Regions from separate parts of the Homo sapiens genome. Here all the other regions are linked to region 1. The links are contacts of gene promoters, found by promoter capture Hi-C in blood cells and fetal thymus (Javierre and others, 2016). All regions are on one chromosome and are shown on one strand. Each heading gives the region's core, a stretch centred on a gene start or on the middle of the fragment in contact. The rest is flanking DNA. Distances are from core to core; before and after follow the strand shown.

The links. The method cuts DNA at HindIII sites, captures the fragments that hold promoters and counts their contacts. A CHiCAGO score of 5 or more calls a contact.
Region 2: a fragment that was not itself captured here is called in contact with the fragment with the promoter of SKA3 in region 1 in 4 of 17 cell types (fetal thymus, total B cells, M2 macrophages and 1 more); the score reaches 7.1 in fetal thymus.
Region 3: a contact is called between the fragment with the promoter of ZDHHC20 here and the fragment with the promoter of SKA3 in region 1, in 15 of 17 cell types (total B cells, total CD4 T cells, fetal thymus and 12 more). The highest score is 18.5, in total B cells.

The regions. Positions count from the first base shown.
Region 1 is chr13:21,175,188-21,178,120 of GRCh38, reverse strand. It overlaps SKA3 (spindle and kinetochore associated complex subunit 3), which reads left to right and starts at 1,569. Exons shown (of 9, transcript NM_145061.6): 1 at 1,569-1,746. The coding sequence starts at 1,644. It overlaps MRPL57 (mitochondrial ribosomal protein L57), which reads right to left and starts at 1,463. Exons shown (of 2, transcript NM_024026.5): 1 at 1,404-1,463; 2 at 1-1,209. The coding sequence starts at 1,204. The coding sequence ends at 896. RefSeq lists enhancers at 994-1,313, 1,329-2,051, 2,774-2,933. The HindIII fragment of the contact is 19,534 bases long and covers 1-2,933 here.
Region 2 is chr13:21,497,222-21,500,154 of GRCh38, reverse strand. All of the region lies in intron 9 of MICU2 (mitochondrial calcium uptake 2), which reads left to right. Among named protein-coding and RNA genes, the nearest start is that of ZDHHC20, 39 kb to the right of the region's middle. The HindIII fragment of the contact is 9,764 bases long and covers 1-2,933 here.
Region 3 is chr13:21,457,777-21,460,709 of GRCh38, reverse strand. ZDHHC20 (zDHHC palmitoyltransferase 20) reads left to right here and starts at 1,407. Exons shown (of 13, transcript NM_001330059.2): 1 at 1,407-1,656. The coding sequence starts at 1,539. It overlaps LOC124903131 (a long non-coding RNA gene), which reads right to left and starts at 1,163. Exons shown (of 2, transcript XR_007063713.1): 1 at 531-1,163; 2 at 64-327. RefSeq lists a cis regulatory region at 1,166, an enhancer at 1,082-1,251 and a silencer at 1,115-1,494. The HindIII fragment of the contact is 7,258 bases long and covers 1-2,933 here.

The sequences.
Region 1 (2,933 bases), core at 320-2,819:
TGTTGCCCAAGCTGGACTCAAGCAATATTCCTGAATAGCTGGGACTACATGCAAGCACCACAGCACCCTGCCAAAATAGCTAAAAAATACACCTTCCTGTAACAGCTCTGATAAATATCTTTTACTTCGTTTATTTTTCTTTTTTGAGATGCAGTCTCCCAGGCTGGAGTGCAGCGGCATGCTCTCGGCTCACTGCAACCTCCGCTTCATTGCAACCTCTGCCTCTGAGGTTCAGGCGATCCTCCCACCTCAGCGTCCCAAGTAGCTGGGATTGCAAGCCTGCACCAACATACCCAGCTAATTTTTTTTGTATTAGTAGAGACGGGTTTTATCACCTTGGCCAAGCTGGTCTTGAACTCCTGACCTCAAGTGATCCGCCCGCCTTGGACTCCTAAAGTGTTGGGATTACAGGCGTGAGCCACCGCACCCGGCCTCTTTTACTTCGCTTAAATGTCCAATTTTAGTAGTAAAATCCCGGAAAATGTTTTTAGGAGTATGTTTAACTGAAAAGCTCATATTTTCTTTCATTTTTGGGCAATTCTTAAGGTAAGCAAACTAATGTTGCATGATAAAGCCCCCATCAAGTATCTCATACTTAAGCAAAGACCTCAAATCATTGTGGCTTTATTGCAGCTTTCCTTCAAAATATCATCTGTGACTGAGGAAATCCCTATCTTCCTATCAGACTAATGAAACCACAGGACAGCAATTAGACTTTTAAGTATTGGGGGTTTAGAGCTCTAGATATTCGATATGCAGACTACTCATGTTTGTTTGTTTTAATAAAGACTGGTCCAAAGGCTCATTTTCACACAAGCTACAGTTTTTCAGTTCCAGGACCAGGTAAAGATGGTCAGCTCCGTGATCCATAAAATCCAAGGGTGACGACTCAGGATTAGGACCATTTCTTGGTGACATTGAGATGGTCGAGCTGGTCCGCAATGAATCTATGCGGGGGGAACTTGGAAGTGGCGGCCGCCTTTATGGCCTCGAAGGCCTCCCTCCTGCGCACCGCGGCGTGGCCGCGCTCCTGCTCCCGGGTCATGTAGGGCATGCTCAGCCAGTAATGGTTCTCCGCCTCGATCTCCAGGCGGCGGATCATGTTCTGCTTGGCGCGCAACGACACGAACCGCGGCCGCCGGTGCTTCCCGATCCACTGACGGCCGGGAATGCGGCCGCGCCAGAGGAGCGCAGTCAGGAACATGGTGCCTGCGGAAGAGAGGGACGGGCTTTGCGGAGGCGAACTGGCGCGGCCGGACCTGGAGAGAGCAGCGGGCGCGCGCTCCAGCTCACGCCTACGGGAGTTCCCGCACCGCCTCCCCTCCAGAGAAGCGGGGAGCCCAGGTAAGGCCAGCAGGCGAAGAAGGAGCTCCCTAGAGAACCGAATTCGCACAGCTACTCACCTGCCGCGCTGCTCAAGACTCTGCGTCTCCGCGGCCGCCAGCAGACGCCGTGGCGTAAGCGCACCCGTCTCGCGGGGTCTCCTGGGGCCTCGGCGAGAGACTTCGGCTCTCGCGAGAGAGGACTGCGCCTGCGCAGAGCCGAGGACGCGTCCGGCGCCGAGATTCAAACTAGTGGCGGGAGGCTGTGAGCTGAGCGGTGGGGTCTGCGTACGCCTGGAGTCCTTCCCCGCTGTGCTCAGCATGGACCCTATCCGGAGCTTCTGCGGGAAGCTGCGGTCTCTGGCCAGCACGCTGGACTGCGAGACGGCCCGGCTGCAGCGAGCGCTGGACGGAGAGGAAAGCGGTGCGTGAGGCGGGCGGCCAGGGCACGGTGCGTGGGGTGCGCCGCGGGCGGAGGGGCGTGGCGAGTGGACGGTATGTCCCACGGGAACCGCCAGGCACTGACGGCGTGGACGGCTGCCACCGAGGCGCAGGGCGGGTGCTGCGCGTCTCACTGCTCGGCGTTTGGCGTTAGCGTAGCTCCCGGGCCTGTTTATGGTTTATTCCTAGGAACCCTTGTCGCGTGTCCGTTTTAGACCCATGTACAACCCCACGGCTCTCTTGAGATAATGAAAGTAGCACTATTACGTTATAAACAGAGACAGCAGCACTTAAGAATAAGAACCTAAATTAACAGATTGAGCTCATAATACATATACTAATTTATACGTGATATGCTTTCGTCACATACAATATGTGTGCTTGTCAGTAAAATACCATGTAAACCTAAACAGTTTCTCTTAGAATCAAGCTATTTAACGTTCTTTACACAATACTTTACACATATAGTGACTTTTTTCTCACTCACGTGGTCCACAGTTGCAGTAAACCTCTGTGTTTTTCCCGCTAAACCATGTTGCCAACACAAACACTAGTACTCAACAGTGCTGGGGTTTAAAAAAATATGTGTATATAAATAAAGCAAAATTCACCATTCCCCTTTTTATTAGAGATTTTTTAAATTGTTGAAAAAGTAGTTCAGATTTTGGAATTATTTCATAAATGTCATAATTGTAATGTGCTTTAAAATATTACACCCTGCAGACTACTTTTACTTTAATTATATAATGAATGATCTCCAGTCACTTGAAAATGTCTATTTCTGCCCGGCGCGGTGGCTCACGCCTGTAATCCTAGCACTTTGGGAGGCTGAGGCGGGCGGATCACAAGGTCAGGAGATCGAGACCATTCTGGCTAACACGGTGAAACCCCGTCTCTACTAAAAATACAAAAAATTAGCCGGGCGTGGTGGCGGGCGCCGGTAGTCCCAGCTACTCGGGAGGCTGAGGTAGGAGAATGGCGTGAACCCGGGAGGCGGAACTTGCAGTGAGCCGAGATCCGCCACTGCACTCCAGCCTCGGCGACAGAGCAAGAGTCCGTCTCAAAAAGAAAAAAAGATTTGGCCGTGCACGGTGGCACACGCCTGTAATCCCAGCATTTTGGGAGGCCGAGGTGGGTGGATCGCCCGAGGTCAGGAGTTCAAGACCAGCC
Region 2 (2,933 bases), core at 205-2,704, 320 kb before region 1:
CATGATGCTGAGAGGCCCAGGTAGATGCTGCCCACACAGCAGATTCACATCACAGCTGAGGACCCTCATCTTAGTGATCTGAATGTTTTGTAATGGGCAAGTAAACAAGCCTTCCTGAGCTTTGCTGCAGTGGGAGGCATTGTGTATTCATGATACTGGACAGTAAGCAAAGCTGTCCTGTGCTCCTGAGGAACAGTGCTGTCCGCTATACAAACAATTCTCCTGCCTCAGCCTCCTGAGTAGCTGGGATTACAGGCGCATACCACCATGCCTCGCAATTTTTGTATGTTTAGTAGAGATGGGTTTCACTGTGTTGTTGGCCAGGCTGGTCCCAAACTCTCGGCCTCCCAAAGTGCTGGGATTACAGGTGTGAAATCCTCGAAGATATAATCTGGAACAAAAATGCAGTCGGTGCCTCTGATAGATGTACAGAAACGTGAGACCCAGCTGGGCACGGTGGCTCAAACTTGTAATCCCAGCACTTTGGGAGGCCGAGGCGGGCAGATCATGAGGTCAGAAGATTGAGAACATCTTGGCTAACATGGTGAAACCCCATCTCTACTAAAAATACAAAAAATTAGACAGGCGTGGTGGCGGGTGCCTGTAGTCCCAGCTACTCGGGAGGCAGAGGCAGGAGAATTGGTGTGAACCCAGGAGGTGAAGTTTGCAGGGAGCCGAGATTGTGCTACTGCACTCCAGCCTGGGTGACAGAGCGAGACTCCATCTCAAAAAAAAAAAGAAATGTGAGACCCATGGAGAACGGTCTCGCACAGTAAGTTACCTAACAACCCATTAGAAATCTGGGCAAAGGACATAAACAGGACACAAGAAGAGAAATCCACAAATGACTAATAAGCATGTGAAAAATGTTTAACTTCATTCACAATTGAAGACATGCAAATTCAGGCCGGGCCTATGGCTCCCACCTGTAATTCCAGCACTTTGGGAGGCCGAGGCAGGTGGATCACCTGAGGCCGGGAGTTTGAGACCAGCCTGGTCAACATGGTGAAACCCCGTCTCTTCTAAAAATACAAAAATTAGCGGGGCGTGGTGGCGCATGCCTGTAATCACAGCTTTTCAGGAGGCTGAGGCAGAAGAATCGCTTGAATGAGGGAGGCGGAGGTTCTGGTGAGCCAAGATCACGCCACTGCACTCCAGACTGGGCAACACAGCAAGACTCCGTAAGACATGCAAATTCAAACATTAATAAAATACCATTTTTCATCTATCAGAAAAGCAGACATCAAAAAAGTTGCATCCAGTGCCTACTTCGAGGTCATGATAGAAGCAGCCACTCTTATTTGTGCTGATAAATACACTGGTTTTTTTTTTTCCTTTTTTCCCTCTCTATCATCTTGTAAATATACTGTTAAGAGAATAAAGCAAGGTACAGAAATATGTGAAGAGATTGTTCCCATTGTGTAAAACAAGGAGACGTGTGTGTACATGTATACACTTTAATAAGAATAGAATATTAGCCAGGCGCGGTGGCTCACGCCTGTAATCCCAGCACTTTGGGAGGCTGAGGTGGGTGAATCACCTGAGGTCAGGAGTTTGAGACCAGCCTGACCAATATGGTGAAACCCCATCTCTACTGAAAATACAAAAATTAGCCGGACGTGGTGGTGGGTGCCTGCAGTCCTAGCTACTCAGGCGGCTGAGACAGGAGAATTGCTTGAACCTGGGAAGCAGAGGTTGCAGTGAGCCAAGATTGCGCCATTGCGCTTCAGCCTGGGTGACAGAGCGAGACTGTCTCAAAAAAAAAAAAAAAAAAAAAAAAAAAAAGAATAGGATATTTCTGGATGGAGACACAAGGAATTGGTAACTCATGTCTGGGGAATGGAACTGGGAATCAGAGTGGAAGAACTCTTCATCATTTATCCTTCATGTTGTTTGAATTTTTAACCATGTGCACATATTACTTTTTCAAAAACTTTATTGAAATATTTAAAAATAAAAATTTCATGAAGTCACAAAAGCTGGAAACCAGTGAACCTTGAGTAAGACCACACATTACAGAGGGCATGATCCTCAGCATCCTACAAAGAGAAACTTTTTTTTTCAGGCAGGGAAGAATTTACTTTCAAATTAAGAATTTTTAGCTGGACACAATGGCTGACACTTGTAATCCCTGCACTTTCTGAGGCTAAGGTGGGAGGATCACTTGAGCCCAGGAGTTTGAAACCAGCCTGAGAAACATAGCGAGATCTCGTCTCTACTAAAAACAGAAATAAAAACATTAGTTGGGTGTGGTGCTCTGTGTCTGTAGTCCCAGCTACTTGGGAGACTGAGGCAGGAGGATAGCTTGAACCCAGAATTTCAAGGCTGCAGTGAGCTGTGATCTGGACTCCAGCCTGGGTCACAGAGTGAAACACTATCTCAAAAACAAGATAAAAACTAAGAGAATTTTCATACTTTGTTTACTTTTGTTTTGTTTGTTTGTTTTTGAGACAGGGTCTTGCTCTGTTGCCCAGGCTGAAGTGCAGTGGTGCAGTTAGCTCACTATAACCTCAAACTCCTGTGCTCAAGGGATCCTTCTGCCTAAGCCTCCTCAGTCGCTGGGACCACAGGCACATGCCACCGTGCCTGGCTAATTTTTGTATTTTTTGTAGAGATGGGGGTTTCACCATGTTGCCCAGTCTGGTCTCCAACTCCTGAGCTCAGGCAGTCCGGCCACCTCAGCCTTCCAAAGTGCTGTGATTGCAGTCAGGAACCACCGTACCCAGCTTTTATTGTTTTAATGGAAAAAACTGAGTTTTCTTTTAACTTTTTTATTTATTTGTTTGTTTTTACACAGAGTCTCACTCCATCACCCAGGCTGGAGTGCAGTGGCGCGATCTTGGCTCACTGTAGCCTCCGCCTCACGGGTTTAAACAATTCTCCTGCCTCAGCCTTCCAAATAGCTGGGACTACAGGTGTGCACCACCACACCC
Region 3 (2,933 bases), core at 158-2,657, 280 kb before region 1:
CCTACTGTCAACTAGGCCACTAACTAATATGACTTTTAAGGCACAAAATCAGGGAGAACAGAATCTTTTATACATGCTTTATTACTCAAGCAGCAGTGTGCAGTGATTAAATACTTACTCGCTTTTACTACATTTCTCTGACACAGCAAAGGGTGACGTCTTCTTCATGGAGACTTTAGTGAGCAGTAGCTAATTTAAAGCTCAGTGTAGGCCGGTCGTGGTGGCTCACACCTGTAATCTCAGCACTTCTTTGGGAGGTGGAGGCGGAGAGGGGTTGGGATTCCTTGAGCCTTGGAGTTCAGGGCCAGCATGGCAACAGGGCGAAACCTAGTTTTTACAGAAAATACAAACATCAGCTGGGCATGGTGGCGGGCCTGTAGTCCCTGCTACTCTGCAGGCTGAAGCAGGAGGAGTGCTTTAGCAGGGAGGTCGAGGCTTAAATGAGCCCAGGTCGTGCCACTGCACTCCAGCTTGGGCGACAGAGCGAGAAGACCCTGTTTCAAAAAACAAACACAAAAATTCATTCTAACCAAAACTGAATGCTAGTAGCAGGAACTGGTATGAAGATTGCGGTCTGGAATCCCTTCTAATGCGTCTGACCTTGCATTGTGAAGTCTTCACAGTGATGCTTCTGGGTTCTATATGATTATCGTCATTGCTTAGCAACCTCTAGTTGTAAATAAATTCTTTAAATTTCCTTAGTCGTTTGCGGGGCAAGGAGAGGGTCATTTACATGCCCTTTCCTTCTCGCTACTCAATCTTAAATTTGGGTTACGAATCAAACTGATGGACCCTACATGGCTTCTACCCGAAATTACAGGTATCTACCGTTCCATCTTCAAGAAAGGGAGGGGTTCCGCCAAGATGGACGAACATAAAAATCACAGGAGGAGCCTTCTAACAATGTGCATTCTTCGCACACTGAGTGGGGAATGGCCTTGTCATGTTTGAAACAGTGCCCCAACTACTCAATGTCCCAGGAACCCCAGTGGAGCGAGTTCTGTACACAGAGAGGGCCAAGATCCACAAATCAGCTAAGGAATCATTTCCATAGTCTCCCTCCCCTATTGAGTCTCGATCCACAAAAGCTATCCCCTGTCCCTCTCATCCATCAAGGGCGTGTTTTTCGCCTCTCCTTCCCCGGCCTCCCGCGTCCGCCCAGCCTGTCCGCATCCAGCCCCGCCACGCCCCATGGGCGGTCCCGAGCTGCGGCCCCGCCCCCTCACCGCCTCCCCGGCCGCGGAAACCCCGCCCCAACGACGCGGAGACCGGGGGCGGCCCGCGGCCCGCGGCGGGCGGGCTGGCGGGGACGGACGCGGGGGGAGGGGGGCGACGGGATGTGGGGTGGGGGCGGGGCCTGGCTGGGCGCCGGGACGGGAGGAGTCCCGGCGGCGCCTCGGACTTTTGCTCCCACAAGTCCTGCCTCGGAGGCGGGGGAGCTGGACCAGCAGCCGCCTGGAGCGTCCGAGTCACCGTCGCCGGGGCTCCCGCGCTCCCCAGAACGGTGGGACGCGGGGCTCGGCAGCCGCCAGCGGAACATGGCGCCCTGGACGCTGTGGCGCTGCTGCCAGCGCGTCGTGGGCTGGGTGCCGGTGCTCTTCATCACCTTCGTGGTCGTCTGGTCCTACTACGCGTACGTGGTGGAGCTCTGCGTGTGTGAGTACCGTCCCCGGGGACTGCGGCGGGGCGCGGGCCGCGGCTAGGGCGCGAGATAGGCCTCTGCGCCCCACACCCGCCGCCTTTCTGGAGCCAGCGCCGGACGCCGGGCGTCCGGCCCCGAACGCGCTCGGAAGCGCCGAGGTTGCTGCACCCGCCGCTTTGTTCAATCCTGCGGCGCGGCCTTGGGGCGACCTGGGGCTCCTGAAGCCTTGCGGCGGCTTCCCGGGTGCAGGTCTGGCCCAGGGAGGCCCCAAGAGCTTCCTGGTTCCCGCCGACACCGGGGGTCTGCATCCTTCTGGGAAGGAACGTGCAGAACGGGAGTAGTCGAGCTTCTTAGAAGGTTTAGGTTGTGTTTGTGGCTTTTTTGGCTTTTGTTCATTTTTTTTAAAAAACCAAATCTGTTCCTTCTGGATTGTTTTTGTTCAAACTGCGCGAGAAGAAACGCCTGTTACCTGTAGAGCCGGCTGTGGCGGGTTGGGGGAAGGGAGGTGTGTCTTTTGGTGGCCTCGGGCTGGAGGCGGGTCAGACCTGGAGGACGAGTAAGCTCCCACTTTTGATTTTTGGTGGTACTCGACTCATTGTAAAATTCGTTTATTTCTACTCTGAATCCAGCCGGCTTTTGCAGAAGGTTAAGACAGAAAGAATGGGTGGGAGGAGACATAACCTGATTATTTTTTTCTTGGCTGATTATTAAGGAGGCTTATATTTCTTATACTCATATTTTGGCGTGTTAATTTTCGTTACTTCCATTTTCCTGATAAGTTCTTAGCACAAAATTCTCATCTGATTCCCTGGAAAAAAGGAGTAGCATTGCAGTATACTTCAAGGATTTAACCTACTGGCTTGAATTGGTTGCCTTTAAGATTGAAGGAAATTGGTTGTCATTAATCAAAAACACTGTTTAGGGGTGACTGCTACATTTGTGATATTGGGCAATTTCTCCAACATTGTTTTGTCTTAAGTAAATTGTTCTTAGGCTTTGAGTATGTGGGTATTTTACACTTAAACTGGCCTCAACTAGGGTGTTCTGTATACATCTGCTGCCTATATCAATTTTTTATGAAAACCTAGGACCAAATGGTAAGTGGTGTTTGTAAACGTTATTGTTATTCCAGAATGTTCTACTCTTAGTCCTTAGACTGAATCTACCATTTTATGAAGGACTGTTAAGTGTTCTTTGAATAACGAACCACATCAGCTAGAAACTAATGTTATGAATGAGAAGAATCTGTACCACCCACTCTTGAAAGTGGCAGAATCAAGACTTCAATTAT